Regions from separate parts of the Homo sapiens genome. Here regions 2, 3, 4 and 5 are each linked to region 1. The links are contacts of gene promoters, found by promoter capture Hi-C in human tissues and cell types (Jung and others, 2019). All regions are on one chromosome and are shown on one strand. The core of a region is centred on a gene start or on the middle of the fragment in contact, and the rest is flanking DNA. Distances in the headings are between cores, read along the strand shown.

Region 1 (2,908 bases), core at 221-2,720:
CAAACTTATTCTCTGTCCAGATTTGTTCCCTTGCTGGTGAGGAGTTGTAATCCTTTGGAAGAGAAGAGGCATTCTGGTTTTTGGAATTTTCAGCCTTTTCTTGTGCTGGTTTTTCCTCATCTTCTTGGATTTATCCACCTTTGGTCTTTGATATTGGTAACCTTTGGATTGGGTTTTTGCGTGGGCATCCTTTTTGTTGATATTGATGCTGTTGCTTTCTGTTTGTTAGTTTTCCTTCTAACAGTCAGGCCCCTCTTCTGCAGGTCTGCTGGAGTTTGCTGAAGGTCCACTCCAGACCCTGTTTGCCTGGGTATTGCTGCCTGCTCCTTCCTCTGGAAGCTTTGTCCCAGGGGGCACCTGCCAGATGCCAGCCGGAGCTCTCCGCTATGAGGTGTCTGTTGACCCCTGCTGGGAGGAGTCAGGAGGCATGTGGGTCAGAGACCCACCTGAGGAGGCAGTCTGTCCCTTAGCAGAGCTTGAGCGCTGTGCTGGGAGAACAGTCGATCTCTTCAGAGCCCGCAGGCAGGAACGTTTGAGTCTGCTGCTGAAGCTGTGCCCACAGCTGCCCCACCCCACAGGTGCTCTGTCCCAGGGAGATGGGAGTTTTATCTGTAAGCCCCTGAATGGGGCTGCTGCCTTTCTTTCAGAGATGACCTCCCGAGACAGGAGGAATATAGAGCGGCAGTCTGGCCACAGTGGCTTTGCTGTGCTGAGGTGGTTCCGCACCCAGTTCGAAATTCCCGGCAACTTTGTTTACACTGTGAGGGGAAAACTGCCTACTCAAGCTTTGGCAGTGGTGGGCGCCCCTCCCCGCACCAAGCTCGAGTGTCCCAGGTCGACTTCAGACTGCTGTGCTGCCAGCGAGAATTTCAAGCCAGTGAATTTTAGCTTGTTGGGTGCCTTGGGGGTGGGATCTGCTGAACAAGACCACTCGGCTCCCTGGCTTCAGCCCCTTTCCAGGGTAGTGAACAGTTTTGTGCCGCTGGCATTCCAGGCACCACTAGGATATGAAAACAACAACAACAACAACAAAGCAAAACAAAAACACAAAACTCCTACAGCTAGCTTGGTGTTTGCCCAAACAGCCACCCAGTTTTGTGCTTGAAGCCCAGGGCCGTGGTGGTGTAGGCACCCGAGGGAATCTCCTGGTCTGTGAGTTGTGAAGACCATAGAAAAGCATAGTAGCTGGACCAGATAGCACCATCCCCAGAAATACCATTTGATTCAGCAATCCCTTTACTGGATATATACCCAAAGGAATAGAAATCATTCTATCATAAAGATACATGCATGCATATGTTCACTGCAGCACTACTCACAATAGCAAAGACATGGAACCAACCCAAATGCCCATCAAGAGTAGACTGGATAAAGAAAATATGATACATGTACACAATGGAATACTATGCAGCCATAAAAAGGAACTGGATCATGTCCTTTGTAGGGACATGGATGGAGCTAGAAGCTGTTATTCTCAGCAAACTAACACAGGAACAGAAAACCAAAATGACATGTTTTCATTTATAAGTGGGAGCTGAATGATGGGAACACATGGACAAACGTTGGGGTGGGAGAACAACACATACTGGGGCCTGTTGCAGGCAATGAGAGGGAGGGCATCAGGAAGAACAGTTAATGGGTTCTGGGCTTAATACTTGGGTGATGGGTTGATCTGTGTAGCAAACCACCATGGCACATTTACCTATGTAACAAACCTGCACATCCTGCACACGTATCCCAGAACTTAAAATAAAAGTTGATAAAATAAAAAATAAATAATTTAAAAAATTTTTTAAAATTTCTGGAGACAGATGATGGTTGTCTAACAACATGAGTGTACTTACTTCCACTGAACTGTATATGTAAAAATGATTATAATTGTGGTTGGGCACGGTGGCTCACACCTGTAATCCCAACACTTTGAGAGGCTGAGGCAGGTGGATCACGAGGTAAGGTATTTGAGACCAATCTGGCCAACATAGTGAAACCCCATCTCTACTAAAACTACAAAAAATTAACCAGGCATGGTGGCACATGCCTGTAGTCCCAGCTACTCGGGAGGCTGAGGCAGGAGGATCGCTCGAACCTGGAAGGCGGAGGTTGCAGTGAGCTGAGAACGTGCCACTGCACTCCAGCCTGGGTGACAGAGCAAAATTCCATCTCAAAAATAAATAAATAAATAAAGATTATAATTGTAAATTTTATGTGTATTTTACCACAATAAAAAAACAGTAAGCCAGGAATAAAAAGTTTTGATGTGAAAACAAATTATCTCTCAAAGTTTGGGTGCAAATGAAATGTGGCCTAAGTTTTTTGGGCCATGACTTAATCTTCTATTACCATTTATTTAGGTGACCAGAAGAATGAGGACAAACAGAATGCCAATTCCATTATTTCAACAAACAAGTATTTCTAGATGAGCCTCTCACACCAAAGTCCCAGGACAGAGGCAGGAACACAATGGGTGCTCAAAAATATTTAAAGAACTTCACCAGTGCCTGACAAGAGACTGAGAATATAAAATGTTCACATGATTCACGAGGGCTCTTAAAACGAGTTGTTGCTCTTAAGATGTGGCTATTGGTTAGGGGAATGAATTTGGAAAGAACTTTGTTAGTAGAAAATGGTCTGCAAATGCGTGGAATTGGTGTTTCCATTGTCAGAGAACAACTTCGAGTGCACCCCTTCCCGGTTCTAAGTCCTTAGTATAATTCTGTAAATGTGACATCAGTAGAGGTGAAATCAGAAACCCTGAGCCTAGAGCCAATTCTGTCCATCCTTAGCTACATGACACGATGCAGGCCACTTTACTCATCTTGGTTCTGTCCAAGTTTGAGGCTTCTATGTGACTTAGATGAGATAATATATGTGAGATGCAAAACAATCACTGAAACAAAACAAAACACAA
Region 2 (2,908 bases), core at 234-2,733, 170 kb after region 1:
TACTAGAGCAAGATACAAAACAAATAGATGGGATCTTGCTTTCTGTATAAGCCTTTAGTGCTCTGGGCATAGTAGAAGTTAATAAATATGTGCTATTTATAATAAGAATGATGTCAGTTTCTACACCTATAAAATTAAGTGGTGGAACAAGATAATTTACTACATTTTTGATCTCCAACATTCATTGATTACATATAACCATTTTCAACTTCATACCTACAGTCATGGTTACCATATGACGTGAACATCTTTACTGAAGCTGGCATGAATCACATTGTGATATAACCCCATTCCTGTACAAACAAATGCCACCACCTCATAAAAAGCTAACTATGTGTTTCTATTCATGATTGGAAGGGAGAAATAAACCTACCCCAAGTAGAAATAATATGTTTTTGACCAGCCTTTTTTCATTTATCTCACGTAACCCTAAACTCCCAGTGAAAATTACATTCTTTCTTCTGGCAATGACCAGGAATTGTTTTAACTTTTATTTTGCTGAAATTTTTCTTAATCTCTTTGCATTTATTATACTACACCTCTTGAACTATATTTGGTCACCCATTTTCTAACCTGCCTTATAAAGCAGATAAAAGTATTTTCTAACTCTTGCTTTTTCTTTGATTTATTCCCTTTCCTAAATTCAGTTGTCATGCTCTTTGGTCTAATATCTTTTCACAGGACACATGGTTTAGTAACTTGAAATGACATAAATTAAAATTAAATTCTGCCTTTGAAAAATTATATGCCAGATAATCCATATACAAGTGATTTTTGTCTTTCATAGAGAAGTGTAAATTTTGTTAAAATATTTTGCAATTTTTTCCAATTACTGAATATGAATTTTAGCCTCTTTTTTAAGAGACATTGAAATTGAACAGGTTTTGTTTTATATATCCTCCTGAGTGATCAATGTTTCCTAAAATATGAATGTGAAGTTCAGGAGATATCACAGAAATTGGAAAGATTCCATTTCAGGGAAAAATCTATGAATTTCTATGAATATAGAGTTTATCAGAGTTTCTATCTGGCTAATAAGATTATATCGAGAGAGGATAATCTTATTAGTCTAAAAAATACAAAGCAGTCTTACATAAGGGCAATCATGATTAATAATTCTTTTCTGGAGACCTGAGGTTTGGTGAATATGATCTCCAAAATCACATCACCTTATGGGTGAGAGTCACTTTGTCAGGTGATATACCCACAAGTGCAAACCTGAAGCTGAAGCTCAAGTGGAAATTATACCATTGTTTGTAAACAAAATGTTAACATTTTTACCAAGGACAAACACATTTGGTGAGTATTAGCTGAGCAATAAGGAAAAATCAATTTTGAGATATATTTAAAACAATTCAGCATTTGAACCATCAGAGGGCCCTAGAAAGGCTGGTTTAAAGAGTAACAAGATAAAAATGTTGCTCGCCACAAATAGAGGAATTGGCCCAGACTTATAAAAAGCCGGCAGTGGAATAGGCAGCCATAATTCAGAAACTCCTCCAAGCAACCCAACCTTCAGATCAACTCCTGACACCATGGCCTGCTGTCAGACCAGCTTCTGTGGATTTCCCAGCTGCTCCACCAGTGGGACCTGCGGCTCCAGCTGCTGCCAGCCAAGCTGCTGTGAGACCAGCTCCTGCCAGCCACGCTGCTGTGAGACCAGCTGCTGCCAGCCAAGCTGCTGCCAGACCAGCTTCTGTGGATTTCCTAGCTTCTCAACCGGTGGGACTTGTGACTCTAGCTGCTGCCAGCCAAGCTGCTGTGAAACTAGCTGCTGCCAGCCAAGCTGCTACCAGACCAGCTCCTGCGGAACTGGCTGTGGCATTGGTGGTGGCATTGGCTATGGCCAGGAGGGCAGCAGTGGAGCTGTGAGCACCCGTATCAGGTGGTGCCGCCCAGACTGCCGTGTGGAGGGTACCTGCCTGCCCCCCTGCTGCGTGGTGAGCTGCACACCCCCATCCTGCTGCCAGCTGCACCACGCCGAGGCCTCCTGCTGCCGCCCATCCTACTGTGGACAGTCCTGTTGCCGCCCAGTCTGCTGCTGCTACTGCTCTGAGCCCACTTGTTGAAAACCTCCTTCTGCTGGGGATCCTGATAAGATGGCACCTTAAAACTAGCCAAATTAGAATCCTAACAATCTTCTGAACTCCAGTACCTATAACTGGGCTTGCAACCTCTCATCACACAGCCACATAAATTCCCTAGGAAGTAAATTCATTTACAATGGAAGACCAAAAATTTTTCCTAGACCTGGTTGTCAGCCAAAGTCCTACAATGTGAAAAGAGTTAGATACTATTTTACTATAAATATCACCTGAAATATTTCAACAGTTATTGGGACTTAAATTTAATAAAAGTTTTCATCTCTTCAATGATGAAGTTGTTGTTTGAACTTTCTTTGCTTTGGAATTTATTAACAATATTGGGGTACTGGGATTTTTCAAAATATCAACATGACATGACACTATGGTTTTTCTGTACTTTTGCTCTTTTAATGATGATATTTAACAGCAATTTTCCTTTGTTTTACCATTAAATGGTCCAATATTTTGCAGCCAAGACATATGATTAAAGGAACTTGACAACATTTAGGAACTGTTTCCTAAGGTCCTCTCATGTGCAAAGTGGTGGGCTAGGTATTCCAACAGATTGATTCAGCTTCTTGAGGTTTTGCCAAATCTATTCATTCATCCATTCATATATGAGGTTGTATACAATTATTTCTGTCCTCCAAGATATACAAAAGCATAATAAAAATTGTGAAAGAATACAAACACAAGATTACAGAGTAATAGCATGTAACGAATATACACATTTCATTCAAGGTCTAGGCTCATAACTCCCATAGCCCTTTTATTGATGTTAGGGCACTTTACACTTCAGAAGCAGGCCTCAGAAAACAGAATCT
Region 3 (2,908 bases), core at 180-2,679, 150 kb before region 1:
AATGGCAGGTCACCTGTAGGAAAAGAATTCTTGTATGGCAAGACTTAATATGTAGCTTCCAAAAGGAACAACTTGGAGGAGTATCTTTCAGAATTTGAGCACTGATAGATTAAACATAAAATCCTCATATTTCATAGTTCCATCTGGAATGCATGAGAGTAGAGCATCTGCTTGCCAAAATGTGCCAATGGTCATAAAATGCCACTTCATGCACATGACATAGTGGTGGATTTTCAGGGTCATATCCTTTGGAGAGCTAGGCTTGGGTATTTCTCCCTCAGATCAACCAAGGGTTTCCTTTTTTTTTTTTTTTCAAGCTTCTAGTGGGTATGAGGCATTTTCACTTAGTAAACTTCCTTCCTTCAGCATAGAAGTGACTTTTGGTTCTTTAATAAGTAAAAAACAGGCTTGTTATTTTTTGGCCCATTCTAATTTAGGATATTGTCAGCACTGATTGAGCTCAATGGAGCTCAATCTGTATTTTTTGCATTATTGCATCTCAGTACTGAAAAGATTGGAAGAGAGAGACATGTAATATGACAGAGTGTGGACATTGGAATTAGAGAGATCTGTATTTGAACCCTGGCTCCATCATGTAGGAGCTCTGTGACCTTGGGAGACCTCTCAGAGGCTTAGGGTCCTTATCTACAAACCCTTGCAGCATTTTGAGAGGACTGAAGGAGCTGGTGCATATGAGGTGCCTGGCACTGTGCCTGGTGCACAGTGGAGGCTCAGCAAGCAGGACCCATCACCAATGACAGAGTCACGCTGTGCACAGGCATGGAGCACAGTGCTTCATGCAGAGTAGGTGCTCCCAAAATTTAGGTTTCTTAATGTTCTGTGAACACTGAATACTAGTAGAAACGGAGGTGGGTGGCTTCCTGCAGCCCCATAGGAAGAGGGTAGAGTTGCCTCCATCTGCCTGGATGGAACTGCAAATGGGCCTTGAACCAATGGCCTTGTAAGTCCTTTCTCATTTCAGCTTCCAGGATTCCCTATCACATAGTCTAGTTTCTAGACGGGTTTCCTTACATGGCTTTTCTCACAGAGTCTTAATTGAATATGAACTGGATGAGACACAAGCCTTTCCTCATTTAGGAGAAAGAGGCACATATGTGCCCCCTACTCTGGGGACAGGGCCCAGCTGTCACTCTAGCTCAATGTCCCATGGATAAGCACTGCTACAGGCAAGGTTGGTCACTTTGAAGCCAAACCATGAAGCTCTTACTTAACCAATCAGCATGTTTTGTGAGGAGTCCTGACTTAGCAAGAAGCCAGAGTAAAACATTTAATGAGGTATAGGACTCAGGTGAAGTGGCTAAATAACAAATGGAAAAATCAGCAAAGGAGGTAAAAAGGAGGAATACTTGACATGGTTGCCACACCCACTGCTAACAGAATATAAAGCCCTGGAAAGGACCAAGGCTTATCCCAGGGAAAAGGAATCAGGTTTTGAAACTGACTTCCAGAGCTCCACTGCCTCCCTGCACCATGCCCTACAACTTCTGCCTGCCCAGCCTGAGCTGCCGCACCAGCTGCTCCTCCCGGCCCTGTGTGCCCCCCAGCTGCCACGGCTACACCCTGCCCGGGGCCTGCAACATCCCTGCCAATGTGAGCAACTGCAACTGGTTCTGCGAGGGCTCCTTCAATGGCAGCGAGAAGGAGACTATGCAGTTCCTGAACGACCGCCTGGCCAGCTACCTGGAGAAGGTGCGTCAGCTGGAGCGGGACAACGCGGAGCTGGAGAACCTCATCCGGGAGCGGTCTCAGCAGCAGGAGCCCTTGCTGTGCCCCAGCTACCAGTCCTACTTCAAGACCATTGAGGAGCTCCAGCAGAAGGTGAGGAGGTGGGCACCACACTGCCAGCTTAATGAACTACTTATCTATATTTGACATACTAAACTGTGAATGGATCTAAGTCTGTTCACAGTAATGCTGAGAATGATAAAGACATAGATTCACTGGCTTAGGTATGACATCAAGTAGTCTTAGAAAATCTGTTGTAGAGCCACAAAGGAAGGATGCAGGCTGGTGTTAGAGTGAAGCATTAGACCAAAATCAGTCATAGCAATCTTATATGGCGTCTTACTCCAAACCAGAATATCTGATTTTTTGGTTTGATTATGATACCCTGGTTTTGTTTTCAGAGCATTACCGCATTTTCAAAAAGTATGCACCTGAATTATTTTCTATGCTAAGAATTTCCTAAGTAAATCTTCAAATATTTAAAGCCTTTCAAAGCTGTAGCAAAATATAGCATTTATGGCAACACAAGAGAGCTGTTGACTCCAGCAATATCTACAGACACATGGACCATCCTCTAGAGCAGCCATGTGTACAGATGACAATATGGGGCCATCTGTTCTGGAAGAGAAGTAGATATAAGTAAAGAGTCCACAGAGAATTGGGACTGAATACCTGGTGTAGGTTTGGGAGGGATCCCAGAAGAGGCAATGTCTGAGTGGGGTTTGAAGGATGAGTGGGAGTTTATATCCAATTGTACAAGCCCTTGATTCTGGGAGGGAATTGACTGCCCACTGTTCTGTAGATCTGGAAAATTAGATGCCAGAAAGGGGTTGTGCTATTTGAATATCATTCATTTATTTACCCAGAGTTGGAGAGTGTTAGGCACAGTGCTGGGGTGGGGGATAATGTACTGAGTAAGACAGTCTCCTTCCTTCAGGAGCTCACAGTCTAACAGGGGAGATAGATGTGGAAACAAAATGATCACACAAAGGTCATAAGAAGTGTTATTGATTAAGTATGTGGGTTACACAAGGGGTCTTGCTAGTGGGTGAGGGCATTCTGGGTACAGCAAGAAGCTTTTTGCAAAGGCATGAACAAGGGCAATATGAGGGGAGAGTGGAGAGAAGTTAGCAGGTGGAATGTGTTGGATAACCAAGTTGTT
Region 4 (2,908 bases), core at 168-2,667, 150 kb after region 1:
TTGAGGCCCTTTGTTTTGGATTAAATGGAGGTTGTTAGGTGGAGGGTTCTAATGAAAATACTGTGTGAACTGCATGCTTTTTACAAATAATAGCAGTTCTCCTGTCCAGATACCACCACTGGACCACCCTTGTATGTAAGTTCCACTAATAAACCCTGCATCATGTTAGCTTTCTCCAGGTCCCTTCTCTAGCTCTCAGACACATTGTCATACTTAGTGGAGTCAATGGGGGTCCAGGATGACAATGTGTCATCTGGGCAAAACATTTCCCTAATTCTCTTCCAGTACCACTTCTAACCTTGCTGCTGAAAGGAAAGTTCATTACTTATTTTTTTAAATCTGTGTTTAATATGTATAAATGTAAGAGGTTCAAATGCAGCATTGTTACATGGATATATTGCATAGTGGCATGAAGTCTGGGCTTCTACTTTAATATATGTTTTCTTTCCTGTCTAAAGACCATGGTTTACTGAATCCAATGAGCATAAAACTCATAGTAGAGGCTACTTACTGCAGACTGAGGAGACCTGGATCTCAGACCTCATATGGTGACCTCATTGTGTGACCTTGGTACACTCTCAGGACCTCAGCTGTAGAGTGAGGGCATAGGCCTACATATTCTCCGCAATCCCTTCCCGGACTCTACAGATGCAACGACTAATTCCAAACAAATTACAAATATAATAATTGCAATGGATCCTTGAAGAGGGTTTTACAATCAAGGTAGAAGTTGAGTTTGGATTGGAAGGATGAGGAGGGCATTCCAGGTGAATGATGACACATCAAAACCAAGGCAGGAAAGCCCAGGTCCTAGTCAGGGGAGAGTGACCACACCAGTGGCCAGGGATCTGCATTTCGTGTGGTCCCTGCTCATATGAAAAACCACAAGCCTATCTTTAAGTGAGTCATGGAAGGAGCTATCTGTGAAGCAGATGACTACTGGTCTGCACTAGGATGATGCAATTAACCTGCTACCATCATGCCCATGTGCATTAATAAGGCAAGTCACTGCTTGGGTGCCGGTGATGGGAGCCTTTGAAGACAAGGAAGAACATGCTAATTTTAGCGCCAAAGGGCAGAGCGATTAGACACTAATTTAGAAAACACATTCTTTTCTCTCTTATGGGTTAGGAATATTTCAAAGGAAAATTAATCAGAAGTGAATCCAATGTCTAAATTTAGTGAGGATAAACAATACAAGAAAATGAGCGAATATTTGTGGTGTATGTACATGAATATGTATGAGGTGAAGAGTGACCAAAATACCATTAGTCAATGCTAAATCTTCACTTAATTGGCCAGAAGATGCACAAGAAAATGATCATATGTTGAAGGGTCATCAGCTCCCAGCCAGGGTATATAAAGGGCCCAGAGGGGGAGGAGGACATTCACACCTGAGAACATCCAGCTCCTCTCAATAGCCCAACCCACACCAGCCTCAGACACCACCATGACCGGCTCCTGCTGCGGCTCCACCTTGTCCTCCCTGAGCTACGGGGGAGGCTGCTGCCAGCCCTGCTGCTGCCGCGACCCCTGCTGCTGCCGCCCCGTGACCTGCCAGACCACCGTGTGCCGCCCCGTGACCTGCGTGCCCCGCTGCACGCGCCCCATCTGCGAGCCCTGCCGCCGCCCGGTGTGCTGCGACCCCTGCTCCCTGCAGGAAGGCTGCTGCCGCCCCATCACCTGCTGCCCCTCGTCGTGCACGGCTGTGGTGTGCAGGCCCTGCTGCTGGGCCACCACCTGCTGCCAGCCTGTGTCTGTGCAGTCCCCCTGCTGCCGGCCCCCCTGCGGCCAGCCGACCCCTTGCAGCACCACCTGCAGGACCTCCTCCTGCTGAGACCCCAATGCCCCCACAGAGCAATACACTGAAGCCTAAACATCTATCTGGTGTTTTTAAAAAGTTAAAAGAAAAATAGATTTTTTTTCACAAGGTGACAATAGTGATTTTTACCATCTGGATACAGCCTGGTGTAAGCAGACGTCCATTACCACCCTCACCCACATTTTCAGGTGTCTACATCAGCCTTAGTCATTATGGATAGTAAATCGACCTTTAAGAATTCCTGGGGTGGACTTTGCAAACACATTCTACAACCTGATGGTTTTTACTGCTCAAACTGTCACCATCATCTTTTGCAATGTGTTGCTCACTGTTGTCAATAAACTAATTTTTCCTGGCATAGCAGACTGCCCTGCTCCCTGATTTGTTCGTTAGTGCATGTTTATTAGCGTACACAGATAAGCAAGATTTTGGAACCTGCACAAGGGAAACAAAGCTCAACCTAAGCAAAACCTTATCCATAGAAATCTCATCTATTCAGTCATTCAGGAATTGTTTATCAAGGGACCTCCAGTTGACAGGTGCTGCCTGATTAGTGATGAACAAGCTACATGCCTTGTATCCAAGAAGCTTATGGTCTAATGGAATAGACAAAAGGAAAGACAATGTTCATGAAGAGGGGTAGAAGTGGGAATAGCATATGCCAAGCCCAGAATGACCACTGGTAGTAAACTGACCAGCACAGCGCATCTCATCTTCTTACCACAGTTCCTAGAGTAGCATTTTTCAAAGTGTGGCCCATGCGTCATACACAATAGAATCTCTTGCAATTGCCTATTAAAATGCACATTCTTAGGCCCCAAACCAAACCTAATGAATCAAAATCTCTGGGAGTGGGGCCCAAGGCTGTTTATTTTCTATCACTTCCATGTAATTCATTAGAATTTCAGGACCATTATTTCAGAGGAAGACCAGGATTTGAGCTCCTTGAGGGCTTAACAAGCATGGCCTGGAAGCCTTCCAAGAATAGTCACAAGGACAAGCCACAATGAAGACACCCAAAGTGAAGAAAAAAATGTAATATAATAATAAGTATGAAACAGCACCTGCTAAACTGTAATCAGAAGA
Region 5 (2,908 bases), core at 225-2,724, 130 kb after region 1:
AATACAGCTCAACATGCTTTTTTTTTCTCAGCAGAACTCACTGGGAAATAAAGCCCGCTTTTTGGTTATAAATTCCAAAATGTTGTTTATTGAGTGAAATGACTCGAGTACATTAAATTCTTTATAGAAGATTTCCCTTATTTCATTGGTGTCTACTTTTCTGAAATTTGGTTTTATGTTTTTTGTCAAAATAGGGACAATAGTATTGTGAGATATAATGTGTTCATGATAAAATGTGTTTCAAGAGCTAAGGCATGAATTAAATGTCTTAATTTAGAATATTAAGACACATGTGCACATACACACACATATACACACAGCACTTTTATTCCAATACCTTAAATTATCTATATTTGATATAGAATGTATCTTCAAAATGATTTCAAGACGGGTTGCTCCTCCTGTGTCTTTGTGTAAAATATAATTGCCAGGGAATCAGTAAAATAATTATGAAAGCAATAGAGAATGATACCAATGAATTCTTAAGTGCAGAAAAGTTTATTAGAAAGCAGAGATACAACAAAGCATAAGAAATTCACCCTAGGAGAAACACAGAATACAATTGGGTGGCTGGATCTGAGGGTGCAACATCAGTGACAAAACTGGTCCTGCAGATAATATCTACCTCACTGAGAAGGAGAATCTGTACCTTAAAGTGATAAAGAAAATAAGGAAATCAGAAGATTGGAATAATTTCTTAGCTAGTGTATTACAAATTAATTCACATTTGGTGCCACCACCAGAAGAAAAAGAAAGCAAAGGAGGGAGTTTAAAATGAACCAGAATGTTCTCACAGAGTCAGTGAAATGGTGGTGGGCTCTTTGGAAGCATAAGGTCCATCCTATTGAATGACATCAACCCCACTTCATGTATCCTAATGGTCAGCACAGTAGAAGGGTCTACATCTGTGGGCCAGTGGTGAAGGGGGACGTGAGCCAGGGCAGTGGGCTCAGCAGCAAGAGGAGGCACAGCACAAGGGGCGGGGACAGGTGGAGATGACACAGGTTGGGCGATAGCAAGTGGTGTGGCAGGAGACTCGGCCACAGACTGGACGCAGGCAGCAGCAGGGGCGGCAGCAGCTGGGGCGGCAGCAGGTGGGCTGGCAGCACACAGACTGGCAGCACTGGGGCTTGCAGCAGCTGGACATACAGCAGCTGGGGCGGCAGCAGCTGGAGATGCAGCACCTAGGGTGGCAGCAGGTCGTCTCACAGCAGGTGGGGCGACAGCAGGTGGGTTGGCAGCACACAGACTGGCAGCACTGGGGCCTGCAGCAGCTGGACACACAACAGCTGGGGCGGTAGCAGGTGGTCCTGCAACAGGTGGTCTGACAGCAGCTGGGGCGGCAGCAGGTCTCCTGACAGAGGTCTTGGCTGCAGCCCTGGTCAGAGCACACGGAGCCACAACAGGAGCTGACCATGGTGTCAGAACGGGGAGGATCTGGGTGGGTTTCCAAGAGAGTGAAGTTCTTGGGTTTGGAAGTCTTCTGGGTCCATAGCCTCCTTTATACCCTGCTGAAGGCCCATTGCCACCACGTCATTATTTCCTTATTATTTACCTCGTGGAAAACTTAATCATGTAATTACATAATTGTGTGTTTCTACTTAAATACTCCAAAAGAGAGAAAATAACCCATTTCCTTTTCCTGCTGTGCTCCTGTGTTTCTATTGGAAACACTTGTCATATTTCTTCCTTAGTGGGGGTCACCTTTGTCCCTGGTCTCTGCAGTGTCTTTTACAAAGCACTGGTCACATGACTCTGACACTTTATTTCTAAATGTGATTCTCCCTCCTACCTGTAGATTGCTCTCTGCAAATCATGGGGGACAACTTTTATAATGTTAATGTGTCTTTTGTTGTCAAATAATGTCCTGGTCAGATGAAATGTTGGAAAGGAATTAGAAGGAAGGACTCATTCGGGAGAAGGATGTCCCATCTATAATGAAGATGACTCTGATTCCGTGTATGCTTCTTGAATGGTTGGGGAGATGGTCAGATCTTAAGGAAGTTATAAACTCTGTGTCAGATCTCATTCCACCACTCCAAGTGAAAGTACTTAGCCATGACTCATTGCCTTTAATGAGTAAAAACACATTTTTCTGTATGTCTTACAGTATAGGCATTTGGAGTAGGAAGTTTTGATTTACCTTTGATCATCAAAACTGCATGATGGATTATTCATTGACAAAAGCATTTGTTATATGTAAACAATATTTAGAATTATTAAGCCTTCAATAATATGCATCCAAGACATTCTATTGGGTACTCTGGGTATAGAACAGATAAACCCTCCTCTTTTTCCTGCAGGTACTTGTATAAGACACATGCATAAGAAACAGAATTTGGCAAAAATGAAAAGAATTACAATTATGTTCATTAAACAACTAAAATAAAAATGTATAGTATGTGGATAAGTTCCATACATCCTCAGGGTATGTATATTACTTGTGAAGTATTGACTATGTACCAGACATTGTGCTAAATATCTTTTTCATTTTCACTCTTTATTACAACCTTATAAAGTAGTGTACATTCTTATTGCTCTTTTAGCAGAATACTCAAAAGAAGCATTAAAAAGCTAAAACAAACAAACAAAATGCTTGTCCAAGATTAAAGAGAAAGTAAGCCTAATATGTCTTAGTGTAGCCAAGAAAGTGGTAAAGAACAAAATTTGCTAAGCTTGCTGAAACTGCTTCATCTTCTTGGAATGTGTCGTCTTTTTTTGTCCACTCTGCAAACTCCTACTCATTTGTCAAAACCCAGTTAAATATTTCCTCCTCAGTAATATCTTTCCTGATAAACTACCCCATTCATTTATCATTATTTCCTGCCTTGTGCTCATAATGTGATACATTCTACTGTATCATAGACGTTTACTTCTTTCATTCCCCCATATGCAATGCAAATAGCCT

Evidence for each region. Contacts are between HindIII fragments. The study calls those that stand out against the background at their distance.
Region 2: a contact is called between the fragment with the promoter of KRTAP1-1 here and a fragment that was not itself captured in region 1, in 7 of the 25 tissues and cell types used here (IMR-90 fibroblasts, dorsolateral prefrontal cortex, liver and 4 more).
Region 3: the fragment with the promoter of KRT33B here is called in contact with a fragment that was not itself captured in region 1 in 7 of the 25 tissues and cell types used here (H1 embryonic stem cells, bladder, lymphoblastoid cells and 4 more).
Region 4: the fragment with the promoter of KRTAP2-4 here is called in contact with a fragment that was not itself captured in region 1 in 5 of the 25 tissues and cell types used here (adrenal gland, aorta, bladder and 2 more).
Region 5: a contact is called between the fragment with the promoter of KRTAP4-7 here and a fragment that was not itself captured in region 1, in 3 of the 25 tissues and cell types used here (IMR-90 fibroblasts, aorta and dorsolateral prefrontal cortex).

The regions. Positions count from the first base shown.
Region 1 is chr17:41,214,383-41,217,290 of GRCh38, reverse strand. No RefSeq gene overlaps it. Among named protein-coding and RNA genes, the nearest start is that of KRTAP9-2, 11 kb to the left of the region's middle. The HindIII fragment of the contact is 7,634 bases long and covers 1-2,908 here.
Region 2 is chr17:41,040,025-41,042,932 of GRCh38, reverse strand. It overlaps KRTAP1-1 (keratin associated protein 1-1), which reads left to right and starts at 1,483. Exons shown (of 1, transcript NM_030967.3): 1 at 1,483-2,392. The coding sequence starts at 1,536. The coding sequence ends at 2,069. The HindIII fragment of the contact is 12,161 bases long and covers 1-2,908 here.
Region 3 is chr17:41,368,334-41,371,241 of GRCh38, reverse strand. It overlaps KRT33B (keratin 33B), which reads left to right and starts at 1,429. Exons shown (of 7, transcript NM_002279.5): 1 at 1,429-1,839. The coding sequence starts at 1,492. The HindIII fragment of the contact is 10,508 bases long and covers 30-2,908 here.
Region 4 is chr17:41,064,388-41,067,295 of GRCh38, reverse strand. It overlaps KRTAP2-4 (keratin associated protein 2-4), which reads left to right and starts at 1,417. Exons shown (of 1, transcript NM_033184.4): 1 at 1,417-2,180. The coding sequence starts at 1,451. The coding sequence ends at 1,837. RefSeq lists enhancers at 1,147-1,683, 1,684-2,221. The HindIII fragment of the contact is 9,926 bases long and covers 1-2,908 here.
Region 5 is chr17:41,082,716-41,085,623 of GRCh38, reverse strand. KRTAP4-7 (keratin associated protein 4-7) reads right to left here and starts at 1,474. Exons shown (of 1, transcript NM_033061.4): 1 at 480-1,474. The coding sequence starts at 1,417. The coding sequence ends at 950. RefSeq lists an enhancer at 650-1,179. The HindIII fragment of the contact is 7,861 bases long and covers 1-2,908 here.